Linked DNA regions of Homo sapiens: all the other regions are linked to region 3. Evidence: promoter capture Hi-C in 16 types of primary human blood cells and fetal thymus (Javierre and others, 2016). All regions are on one chromosome and are shown on one strand. The core of a region is centred on a gene start or on the middle of the fragment in contact, and the rest is flanking DNA. Distances in the headings are between cores, read along the strand shown.

What was found. The method cuts DNA at HindIII sites, captures the fragments that hold promoters and counts their contacts. A CHiCAGO score of 5 or more calls a contact.
Region 1: a fragment that was not itself captured here is called in contact with the fragment with the promoter of STEEP1 in region 3 in 2 of 17 cell types (total CD4 T cells and naive CD8 T cells); the score reaches 6.7 in total CD4 T cells.
Region 2: a contact is called between a fragment that was not itself captured here and the fragment with the promoter of STEEP1 in region 3, in 1 of 17 cell types (naive CD8 T cells). The highest score is 5.2, in naive CD8 T cells.

The regions. Positions count from the first base shown.
Region 1 is chrX:119,835,085-119,839,307 of GRCh38, forward strand. It overlaps UPF3B (UPF3B regulator of nonsense mediated mRNA decay), which reads right to left. Exons shown (of 11, transcript NM_080632.3): 9 at 3,283-3,443; 10 at 2,673-2,967. Among named protein-coding and RNA genes, the nearest start is that of UPF3B, 16 kb to the right of the region's middle. The HindIII fragment of the contact is 5,356 bases long and covers 1-4,223 here.
Region 2 is chrX:119,929,505-119,933,754 of GRCh38, forward strand. NKAP (NFKB activating protein) reads right to left here. Exons shown (of 9, transcript NM_024528.4): 6 at 2,603-2,712; 7 at 2,432-2,507; 8 at 512-661. Among named protein-coding and RNA genes, the nearest start is that of NKAP, 12 kb to the right of the region's middle. The HindIII fragment of the contact is 1,644 bases long and covers 716-2,359 here.
Region 3 is chrX:119,562,792-119,567,233 of GRCh38, forward strand. It overlaps STEEP1 (STING1 ER exit protein 1), which reads right to left and starts at 2,618. Exons shown (of 7, transcript NM_022101.4): 1 at 2,441-2,618. The coding sequence starts at 2,564. The HindIII fragment of the contact is 7,229 bases long and covers 2,123-4,442 here.

The sequences.
Region 1 (4,223 bases), core at 1,415-3,914, 270 kb after region 3:
ATTTTTAAGAGTCATAGTTATGTATGAATATATGCTCAAGTGAAGTCATTTAAGACCAAAAATGTGAGGGCACGGTAAATGACAACTTGCCTACTTCCTCTCTCCATCTCCAAAGAAAAGCAACCATTTGGTAATTACTATTTTATATGCTTGGGTAAATTTTTTTTTGGAGATAGGGCCTCACCCTGTCACCCAGGCTGAAGAGCAAGTGGGATGATCAAGGCTTATTGCAGCCTCGACATTCCAGACTCAAACGATCCTCCCACCTCAGGTACCTAGTAACTGGGATTATAGGCACGCACTACCACACTGGGCTGTTTTTACATTGTTAGTACAAACAAGCTCTCCCTATGTTGCCCAGGCTGCTTTCCAACTCTTGGGCTTAAGTGATCCTCCTGACTTGGCCTCCCAAATTGTTGGGATTACAGGCATGAGCCATCATGCCAGGCCCTAAGTGCCAGTTTTAAAGGAAGCACAGAAGACAGAGGAACACGTTAAATAACAGCATGGGGATGTAATCTGCCAATTCAGAACAGGAAAAGCCCTACAAGACAAATTGGTTTCTGCAACAAATGGTAGGAAAACAAGAGAAGGGGAAATTGTTTAGATTAAAAGAAAACTTGGCTGGGTGCAGTGGCTCATACCTTTATTCCCAATACTTTGAGGGGATCGGCTGAGCTCAAAAGTTTGAGACCAGCCTGAGCAACATAGGGAGACCTCATCTCTACAAAAAAACTTAAAAATTAGCTGGGCATGGTGATGCATGCCTGTAGTCCCAGCTACTCTGGAGGCTGAGGTAGGGGGATGGCTTAAGCCCAGGAGGTCGAGGCTACAGTGAGCTGAGATTGTACCACGGCACTCCAGCCTGGGTGACATAGCAAGACTCTGTCTCAAAAAATAAACTAAAAACAAAAGAGAACTGAAGAAGACATTTCAAGGAAGCATAATTTGTGGAATTTGTTTAGGTCCTATTAAAAAAAAGACATTAGGCTGGGCACGGTGGCTCATGCCTGTAATCCCAGCACTTTGGGAGGCTGAGGCGGGAGGATCACCTGAGGTCAGGAGTTCGAGACCAGCCTGGCCAACATGGTGAAACCCTGTCTCTACTAAAAATACAAAAATTAGCCGGGCATGGTGGCTTGAGGCTGTAGTCTCAGCTATTCGGGAGGCTGAGGCAGGAGAATCACTTGAACCCGGGAGGTGGAGGTTGTGGTGAGCTGAGATCATGCCACTGCACTCCAGCCTAGATGACAGAGCGAGACTCCATCGCAAAAAATAAATAATTAATTAATTTTAAAAAGACATTAATGAAGCAATTGGGAACATATGAACACTGAATAGACAGGACGTTAAGGAATTATTGTTAGTTTTTTTTGGTGTGAAAATGCTACTAGGGTAATATTAATAGAGTATTTATCTCATATACTGAAGTATTTAAGGAAGAAATTATGTGCAGGGTTTGTTTGAAAATAATCTAGTAGGGGTAGGGATGAAGTAGAATAGAAAGAAGGTTGGCTATGAACTGCTGGGTGATGGGTACAGTACATGGAGTTCATCATACTATTCGATTTTTTTTTTTTTTTTGAGACAGAGTCTCGCTCTGTTGCCCGTGCTGGAGTGCAGTGACGCGATCTCGGCTCACTGCAAGCTCCGCCTCCCAGGTTCACGCCATTTTCCTGCCTCAGCCTCCCGAGTAGCTGGGACTACAGGCGCCCGCCACCACGCCTGGCTAATTTTTTGTATTTTTAGTAGAGATGGGGTTTCACCATGTTAGCCAGGATGGTCTTGATCTCCTGACCTCGTGATCCACCCGTCTTGGCCTCCCAAAGTGCTGGGATTACAGGCGTGAGCCACCGCGCCCGGCCAGTTTTTTTTTTGAGACTGAGTCTCGCTCTGTTGCCCAGGCTAGAATACAATGGCGTGATCTCGGCTCACCTCAACCTCCACCTCCCAGGTTCAAGTGATTCTTCTGCCTCAGCCTCCCGAGTAGCTGAGATTACAGGTGTGCGCCACCACATCCAGCCGATTTTTTGTATTTTTAGTAGAGACGGGGTTTCACCATGTTGGCCAGGCTGGTCTAGAACTCCTAGGCTCTAGCAATCCACCCACCTCAGCCTCCCAAAGTGCTAGGATTACAGGTGTGAGCCACTGCACCTGGCCCATCATACTATTCTCTATTCTACTTTTGTGTATGTTTACAATTTCTATAGTAAGTTAATAAAAGCCCAGCCAAGACTGAAATAAAAGTTGGTCAGGCGTGGTGGCTCACGCCTGTAATCCCAGCACTTTGGGAGGCTGAGGCAGGTGGATCACGAGGTCAGGAGATCAAGACCATCCTGGCTAACACGGTGAAACCCTGTCTCTACTAAAAATACAAAAAAATAAGTCAGGCGTGGTGGTGGGCGCCTGTAGTCCCAGCTACTTGGGAGGCTGAAGCAGAAGAATGGCGTGAACCCAGGAGGCGGAGCTTGCAGTGAGCCGAGATTGTGCCACTGCACTCCAGCCTGGGCAACATAGTCAGACTCTGTCTCAAAAAAAAAAAAAAAAAAAAGTTGCAGATGATTAAAGTTCCCCTTTAAAAATTCTATAATAACAGTGCCCTTTACACTTTCTTTACACTTGCAGGAAAAGGGAAAAAAACCCTCATAAACAAGTTTAATGACAAGCAGCACCTTGTTTCTTATTCGATCTCTCTTGACCACTTCTTCTTTCTTTTCAGTTTTTTCTGAGCTGCCTATTGATTCTGTACTTTCAGCCTTCTTTCCTTTATCCCGAAGTGTGTCTTTCTCTTTTTTCATTTCTTCTTCTTTTCTCTTAAAAGTCTTCTCTTTCTCATAGCGCTCCTTCTGCCTACGGCGCTCTTCTTCTTGCCGCTTCAGCCTCTCTCTTTCTCGAAGTATGCGCTCCTGATCTCGTTCATATTCCCGTTCCCTCTCCCTATAGTCTCTGCCGCTCTCATCTTCAGGTCTGCATGAAAAACAAATCTGAGACAGAACCCTGAAAGATCTTGTAATCACAAATGCAGGAACACTGTGATTCTGATTTGGCCCCTGCAATGAGGTTGCACTTTTAGAGCAGAGTGAAAAATACTAGTGTTTTAAGAAGGAACAAAACCCCAAAACCATTCACCCAGATTAAGATACAAGAATATTCTGAAACTGTTCCTCCTCATCCCCCTGCCCTGCATAAAACAGCTTATCTTAATTCAGGTACATGTCCAGGACATAGCAGCAAAACTAGCATGTATAAATCAAACATAACAAAGAGTCCTTGACTACTGACCTCTTTGGTTTTTCATCTTTAAGTTCGCTATCAGAACGCTTGGGCAATGTACAACTTTGCCCACTGGCTCTTTCATCACTGAGATTCTCTTTGTCCAATTTCTTGGCTTTTTCTCTTTTGTCCAATTCTTTTTCATCTCCTTTTTCTGGCTTCTTGAGCAGCTTTAAAGATAAAATGTTTATTTTTATTTTGAAGGCTGGGACACTATCTTCTATTAAAAACCCAGTATACCAAATATTTAAAATTTAGACTAGACAAAGCCCCCTATCTCTGCAGGTACACTTAATCTTTCAGGTGAACAACTAGTGCATAAGAGTAGTAATTTACTAAAAGGATGCTATTAATGTTAAAGTGTTATCCACTTGAACGAAGTGGTTTAATCACTTTGTGGCAATAGGATCAAGACTCCTTTGGCTTTTATTCTGAGGCAGGGTCTCACTACTCTGTTGCCCATGCTGGAGTGCAGTGGCATGAACATGGCTCACCGCAACCTTGACCTCCTGGGCTTAAGTGGTCCTCCTGCCTCAGCCTCTTGAGTAGCTAGGACAACAGATGCACACCACCACATATGGCTAATTTTTTAATTTTTTTGTAGAGACAAGGTCTCATCATGTCACCCAGGCTGTTCTCAAACTTCTGGGCTCACACCATCCTTCTGCCTCGGCCTCCCACAGTGCTGAGATTACAGGTGTGAGCCACTGTGCCCGGCTTCCTTTGGCTTTAAATGGGTCAACCTTTAAGTGAACCAATGCATACTTCAAAGTATGCTTCTGTAGCAAACCAGCATGTTGATATAACTTAATGGGAAACAGCCCACAAATTTTAAGTGATAGGCAGATCGTTTCTGTTGGGACTGTTTTTATGTAGTACTTGGAATGACAAATACCTTGGTCACCAAAGGAGAGATCCATTGCAGGAATAATTTTGCCTTGAGCCTGAGA
Region 2 (4,250 bases), core at 288-2,787, 370 kb after region 3:
CTTTTTAAAATTTATTTATTTATTCATTTATTTATTAGCCAGGATATATTCTCAGCTGACCAATGTCTTTTATCATCTTTTTCTGTTATTCAGTCTCAGAAATCTGGGTCCATAAAAAACTGAAGACAAACTTGTAACCAGGAAACACTGTCTTGTGAAAATATTTTCCTAACTGCCACATTCCTCATGGGGCAGTGATAAATAGCTGAATTTAACTATATCCTCCAGTGGATAAAATATCTGTAAGCAAATACCAACTAGGAAAGGACATTAGGAAGATTGATTCTTTGAAGTCAGAGATATAGCTGAGTTTGAGGCTGAGTTGCATATATACTTGGAATTGCAGAAAACCATGTTATACTAACAACACTAATATCAAACCAATATTTATACTCTACTTTTCATAAGAAACAGTCACTTAATGAAAATCAATTACCAAAATATAATTCTGGTAGTAAAAAAGAAGAAAAAGATCTAATCATGGAAACTGAGCTTAATGCCAACAACATACCTGCTACCACTCATTACATAACCTGAGCATTCAAATGATGCAATTTCTTCACTTGTCAAGCCAATTTCACCTCTTCGTGGGATACGTTTTCCAGCTTTTACATATTCAGCCATAGCTGCACCTTCACCAGGTAACAGAGCATGGCCATAGCTACAAAGTAATTCAGAATTCAGAAAAGGTCCATTAAATCATCTTAATATTAAAAGCTTATAATCTAAAGAGAGCACCAAAAATCCCCACATTTTCTCTCAAACAAGAGTAGGAATAACAGTGCTCAGCAGTAGTGTGCTAGGAAGCTCAATGTGAATTGCTTTATCCTAATTAGTGTATTAAACATTGCATTGCACTATGACCTATACAACTAACCCAGAAATGCAGAAATATTTTGAAAGAAAAGAACTGCTGTGAGTATAGATTCACAGTTTACAATTATGGATTAATTTATCCCTACAGGTATTGTCATTACTGGTTCTGGCTCCAGCTGATTCCCTTTCCCTTTTTCCCTTAAAAAATCCAAAGTATGCCAGGCACAGTGGCTCACGCCTACAATCTGAACACTTTGGGAGGCTGAGGCGGGAGGATCACCTGAGATCAGGAGCTTGAGAGCAGCCTGGCCAACATAGCGAAACCCCGTCTCTACTAAAAATACAAAATTAGCCGGGCATGGTGGTGCATGCTTGTAGTCCCAGCTACTCAGGAGGCTGAGGCAGGAGAATCACTTGAACCTGGGAGGCAGAGGTTGCAGTGAGCCGAGATCGTGTCACTGCACTCCAGCCTGGGCGACAGAGTAAGGCTTTGTCTCAAAAAACAAAACAAAACAAAACAAAAAAAAAAAACAAAGTAGGCTGGGTGCAGTGGCTGACGCCTGTAATCTCAGCATTTTTGGAGGTTGAGGCGGGCAGATCACTTGAGATCAGGAGTTCGAGACCATACTGGCCAACATGGCGAAACCCCAGCTCTACTAAAAATACAAAAATTAGTCCGGGCGTGGCGGCAGGCGCCTGTAATCCTGGCTACTTGGGAGGCTGAGGCAGGAGAATCACTTGAATCTGGGAGGTGGAGGTTGCAGTGAGCCAAGATCATGCCACTGCACTCCAGCCTGGGCAACAGAGTGAAACTCAATCACACCACTGTGCTTCAGCCTGGGAGACAGAGTGAGACTCCATCTCAAAAAAACAAAACAAAACAAACAAAAAAAAAATTCTAGACCAGGTGCGGTGGCTCACGCCTGTAATCCCAGCACTTTGGGAGGCTGAGGCAGGTGGATCATGAGGTCAGGAATTTGAGACCAGCCTGACCAACATGGTAAAACCGTATCTCTACTGAAAATACAAAAAAAAATTAGCTGAGTGTGGTGGCGCGTGCCTGTAATCCCAGTTACTCAGGAGGCTGAGGCAGGAGAATCGCTTGAACCTGGGAGGCAGAGGTTGCAGTGAGCCAAGATCACGCCACTAAACTCCAGCCTGGGCAACAGAGCGAGACTCCGTCTCACAAAAAGAAAAAAAAATTCTGCTGGTAAAAAAAGAAAAAAGAGAAAAAAAGGAATAAAAAATTCTGTGAGGATCAAAGAGAAACAGAAATCACACCTACTTGTGGAGGGGAAGTATTGGGAATCAGCATATGCATCTCCTTTTGAAAAGGGCTTCGAAGGATAGTAAGGATTTTAACAGGAAGAAACTGGCGATAGGGAAGAAAACAGAGGGCAGGGAAAAGAAGGGAAGGCATACTGGATGAAGAAATAAGCTGAACATGGCATAAAAGTTGCAAAGTGCACATTAAGCCCAGGGAATATTTAGTAGTCCAGCTCAGCTGGAACCTGGAGTAGAAATAAGGGAATAGAGTCAGATAAGCTTGGCAAGGTAAGTTAGAACCAGACTTTTTGGTAGGTACTTTAGATATTATAAACACACTGCTGCTTACTTCAAAGGTTTATCATCTTGAGAGGTAAGTGTTTTTGGAGCCTCTGGGCCAATTAAATCTGATGGTTCTTCAGCCTCTGCATGAAAGATATTAAGAAACACATTCACATTCTGACTAATTGGTTACTTTAATGTTTCATCTGTTCTGAGTTAGTCTATCAGAAGAACCTACTTGTTCGATCCTTCCAGGGATTTTCCAGAAACTCTTCTTGGGATTCTTTAGAGCTTGAATCACTGGACTCTTTTCTGCTCTTCTTAGACCTCTTTTTCTTATATTTCTTCCTATAGGGATTTTAATTTGATACAAATTCACTTAATCTTCCTATGTTAGAGGGCATCTTAATTTTTCTTTTCTTTTTAAATTTTGAACTGGTGACTATACATCTTAATTTTTCAAGGCAAAGAAAGGTGACAATAAAATGATCTGAATTCCCAGCTTATTCAAACTTACAAGATAATTTTACTTAAAAAAATCTGCTTCTAACTGAACCTGGGAAACAGAGCAAGACCCCGTCTCTATTAAAAAAAAAAAAAAGTAGCTGGGTGTGATGGCACACATCTGTAGTCTAAGCTATTCAGGAGGCTGAGGCGGGAGGATCACTTGAGCCCAGGAGTTCGAGGCTGCAATGAGCTATGATTAGCCCACTGCACTCCAGTCTGGGCAACAGAGCGAGACACTGCCTCTTAAGAATTTTTTTAAAAAGTATTCTAACTTATTTAACCAAATCATCTTTTGCTATAAAAATTATCACTAAAGGAGGCTGGGTGTAGTGTTTCACCCCTGTAATCCCAGCACATTGGAAGACTGAGGCGGGTGGGTCACTTGAGCCCAGGGGTTAGAAACTAGCCCTGGGCAACATGACGAAACCGTGTCTCTACAAAAAATACAAAAATTAGCCAGGTGTGGTGGCACACGCCTGTAGTCCCAGGTATGGGGAAAGTGGGGGCAGAGGTGGGAGGATGGCTTGATCCTGGAAGGTTGAGGTTGTAGTGAGCTGTGATCGTGCCACTGCATTCCAGCCTGGGTGACAGGGTGAGACACGGTCTCAAAAAAAAAAAAATTCACTAAAGGGAACAATGAAATACAGTTCTGATGTTGTAGAAAGACAACAGAAATAAAACAGCCTAAAAAGTCCCAACAATTTGAACATTATGAATAATTTTATGTGTAATGGATTAAAATATGTCAAATATGTTTAAATCCTTGGGTTAATAATACTTTTTAAAAATCCAATTCATTATTTGAAAAGTCATTAAAACAAAAAAAATCAAGCAATTATCCTGCTCTTACAATATAAACTATATTTCAGGGTATCTAAATAGTTGATGAGGGTAAGTTTCTCTTATAGAATCATTCTGCCTAATAAATGAAGGATAAAGCCAGGATTAGACTATCACCATTTTACAACCCCTAATGAAATAATGGATCGAGATAATGACCATCAATGGCTGTTAATATGACAAAAAGTGACAACCAGACATTATTTGCCTCCTGACAGTAAACAGCACCACTTATGAAGTATTCTTGCCCCAACTCAAATCTGAGCCTTCTCAGGCCTCTAGACCTATTAATCTATTGGAAATACAGAGGACAGAACATGCCAAAGAATACCATAAGAATACGGTCACTGCAATTTAGGGACATTATTTGGATCCTGATTGGAATAAACTACAGAAAAAACTGCTGAGAATAGAGGAATTATTATTAAATGTTTTAGGCACAATAATAGCATTCTGGTTATGGGTTTTTGTTTTTTTTTTAAATATAGAGACAGGATCTCGCTATGTTGCCCAGGCTGGTATTGAACTCCTGGGCTCAA
Region 3 (4,442 bases), core at 1,368-3,867:
CTAAATATTAAGCAGGGTAAGAGGACAAAGTGACAGGGATGCTGTTTTAGATAAGGTAATCAGGGAAGGGTTCTCTAAGGAAATTACATTTTAGCAGAGACCTGAATGAAGTAAGGGAGGGATTGAGGGAAAAGTTTTTGGGGCAGAAGAAATACCAATTAAAAAGGCACTGGGGGGCAGGAACACTTTTGACATGATGGAGAAAAAGCAAAAAGGCCACTGTGGCTGAAGTGCGATGAGCAAGAGGAAGACTGTTAGGGAATGAAGCCTGAGAGGTAGCCACAGGCCTGATCAAGGGTCTTGGTATGGATGGACTTTGGTTTTATTCTCAGTGTTATATGAAACCATTGGTTTTGAACAGGACTCTGGCTACTATGTGGAAAAGAGTGGAAGCAACGAGAGCAAGAGACTATTGTGCCAATCCAGGTGAAAGATGGTAGTAGCTTGGACTACAGTGTTAGAAGTGGAGGTGGTAGGCCGGCCGTGGTGGCTCATGCCTGTAATCCCAGCACTTTGGGAGGCCTAGGTGGGTGGATCACTTGAGGTCAGGAGTTCAAGACCAGTCTGGCCAACATGGTGAAACCCCATCTCTACTAAAAATACAAAATTAGCCGGGCGTGGTGGCACATGCCTGTAATCCCAGCTACTAGGGAGGTTGAGGCAGGAGAATCGCTTGAACCTGGGAGGTGGAAGTTGCAGTGAGCCGAGATCGCACCACTGCACTCCAGCCTGGGCAAGAAGAGCGAAACTCCATCTCAAAAAAAAAAAGAAAAAAAAAAAAACTAGCCGGGCCTGGTGGCGCACACTACTTGGGAGGCTGAGGCAGGAGAATCGCTTGAACCTGGGAGGCGGAAGTTGCAGTGAGCTGAGACCGCGCCACAGCACTCCAGCCTGGGTGACAGAGTGAGACTCCCTCTGTCTCAAAAAGAAAAAGGAATGGAGGTGGTAAGAAGCAGTCAGATCCTGCATACATTTTCACGAAAGCACCTGCAGGATTTCCTGATGGACTGGACAGATGTAAGGTACGTGACAGACAGAAGTCAAGACTGATTCCAGGTTTTGGTCTGAGATACTGGATGAATAGTTGTACTACTGACTGCAATAGGGATGACTATAAGAGGAGCAATTGGAGAGGGGGTGTAGAGGGTCATGAACTCAATTTTCAGCACGATATATTTGAGAGGCCCATTAGACATTCAAGTGGAGATGTTGAATAGGCAATTGGAGTCTCAGGAGAGGTGCAGGTTAAAGATGAACATCTGGGAGTTACCAGCATGTCAGTTGTATTTAAAGCTTGGGAATGAATGAGATCACCTAGGGGGTGGGTACAGAGTGAGAACAGGTGAGAGTACTGAGCTATAGGGCCTTGGAATGCCTAAAAGTCTGAGAGAGAAAAGGGAGCCAGACAAGGGGAAAAATCTAAGGCTGGGCGCGGTGGCTCACGCCTGTAATCCCAGCACCTTGGGAGGCCGAGGCGGGTGGATCACGAGGTCAGGAGTTCGAGACCAGCCTGGCCAACGTAGTGAAACCCCCGTCTCTACTAAAAACACAAAAATTAGCCGGGCATGGTGGCGGGCGCCTGTAATCCCAGCTACTCGGGAGGCTGAGGCAGGAGAATCACTTGAATCCGGGAGGCAGAGCTTGCAGTGAGCCGAGATTGCACCACTGCACTCCAGCCTGGGCAGCAGAGTGAGACTCCATCTGAAAAAAAAGGGGGGGGGGAAATACGAGGTAGGAGGAAAATCAAGTGAGTATGGAGTCTTGGAAGCAAATAAAAAACATGTTGCAAAAGGAATGAAATGATTACCTCTGTCAAATGCCACTGACAGAATTAAAATGAACATTGATAACTGACCACTAGAACTGTTAACATGGAGCCAAATACGGTTAAGATGATGAGGTGGGAAGGAAAGCCTACCTGAAGTGAGGTCAGGAGAGAATTAGAAGTCAGGATGCAGAGACAGCCAATATAGGCAACTCTTTTGAGAAGCTTTGCTATAAAAGAAGCAACGAAATGGGGTTATAGCTGGAGGGGAATACAGGATCGAGGGAGGGTTTTATTTTCGTTTGCTGTGAGGTAAGAGCAACTGCAGCATCTTGGTATCCAGCAGAAAAGTTATAAAGCTTCTAGAGGCAGTAGTTTTTGAAGACAGTGGATTAAGAGGGAAATACAATATGTTTGTGTTTCTATTTTTGTTCTCCTGAAGGAGTTTAGTTTTGAGGAAGGTCTGGATACAGAGTCACAAGGCTAAACAAAAAGCAGGAAAAAAAAAAATGCCCTGGAGTGGGGCGGGGATGCGTAGGGAGGATTTAGTCGGAGAGAGAAAACCCACCAATCTTCGTTGAGAAGTGGCTCCCAGATCACAGCCAGAGGAAATTCGCCTTCAAGAACCCGAAGTCTGGCTCCTTGCAGACGCCCCCGCAGTTCCCGGCTACTCACCCAGCACTAGGACCATCTGGCCGCACAAACAGTAGTAAACATGGAGGGGCTTCTCGCCGTCGTCATATTCCTCCCGGTCCCGAGTGTCAGAGCAGACTACTGACCGAGACACTACTTTCGGCATGATTCCCAAGAGCAATCTGAAAACTCTACGCCAAGAAGAGGGTCGCCCCGAAATGACGTCACGAGTGCGCCTTGCACCTTTTCCTTGTGGCTACGCTGGTCACGTGTTAGCAGAAGTCTTATAAACTTCCGGGCTGTCCTATCAGGCTAAGATATACGGGGGTGCGCCTGGAGCCTCCCAGAACCTACTTTGTCTTGGCCAAGTTAGCTGGGACTCCTGTGATCTGGGAGTCACTTCTCAATGAAGATTGGTGGGCTTTCTCACAACACCCTTAATATTATATAAATTCTTTACATTTCTATAACGCATGCATTTATATGTATATATACACATATGTATATATAAGACCAGCTAAATAAAGGACTATGCATTATATAGTTTATATTATATATATATATATATATATATGATACTGATTTGGGTGTGTTTCTAAATATGATTGTGATTTTAATGACTATTCCAGATGAGTACATAATTTTTTAGGTATCTTATTTTTTAGTTGATATAATTCACGTAACATAAAATTCACCCTTTTAAAATGTGTAATTGGGTGTTTTTTAGTGTATTCACAAAGTTGTGTAACCATCACCACTAATTCCAGAACATTTCCATCATCTCAAAAAGAAATCTTATACCCATTAGTAGTCACCACGACCCGCACATCCCCCACCTTCCCAGCCCACGGCAACCACTAATCTACTTTTTATCTCTATGGATTTGCCTATTCTGGACATTTCATATAAATGGAATCCTACAATATGTGGCCATTTGTCTGGCTTCTTTCATTTACCATAATGTTTTCAAGGTTCATCCATGTTACAGTACTTCTTTCCTTTTTATGGTTGAATAATATTTCATCATATGGATATATCACATTTTGTTCATTCATCAATTGGCAGACAACGGGGATGTTTTCACTTTTTGGTTATTATATAGATAATGCTGCTATGAACATTCATGTACAAGAATACTTCCACCGCAAATTTGTGTGGGAATATAAATCTGGATTTTTAACTTTTGACAGCACGAGAAGTGATTAAAGCACCTTGACACTGTTTGTGATTCAAACAATGTGGGATGTCATTGAATGACTTTACTGCAGTACAGGTTTCAGGTATAAACACTGTTTTGCCTTGTAATTTTAGGTTAAATTCATTAAGGAACATTACTAAGTCTATGGCAAAAGCCATTTTTTAAAACTATTCATGTTCAATAATAGTGGTCAAGGGTGGGGTTCTTCTCATTTAGAAAATTTTCTAAAATTTTGAATTCAAATTCAAATTCAAATTTTCTAAAATCTTGAACTCCTGACCTCGTGATCCACCCACCTTGGTCTCCCAAAGTGCTGGGATTACAGGTGTGAGCCACCGCGCCCAGCTGAACTTCACTGTTGACACTACTGTCAAGAATAACACAAGACAGATTCAAGTTTGTTTGTTTGTTTGTTGCAAAGTACCTGCTGTTTAATAATACAATTAATAACTACAGGATTTTAAACAACTTACATTTTGACAAGTATTGTACATTTGTCTAAACCTTTTCTGCTCCATACATATTTGTAATACATCTTAGCAAATTATGCTTTAGACTGAATTGAATTAGTGTTTTCCTGACTTCTTTGAAATACTCTCATCTGCAGTTGTTCCACACAAGACCATACACCCAGGCCAATTTTTTTTTTTTTTTTTTTTTTTGAGACAGAGTCTGGCTCTGTCACCCAGGCTGGCTGGAGTGCAGTGGCACAATCTTGGCTCACTGCAACCTCCACCGCCCAGGTTCAATCAACTCTCCTGCCTCAGCCTCCTGAGTAACTGGGATTACAGGCACATGCCACCATGCCTGGCTAATTTTTTTTTTTTTTTTTTTTTTTGTATTTTT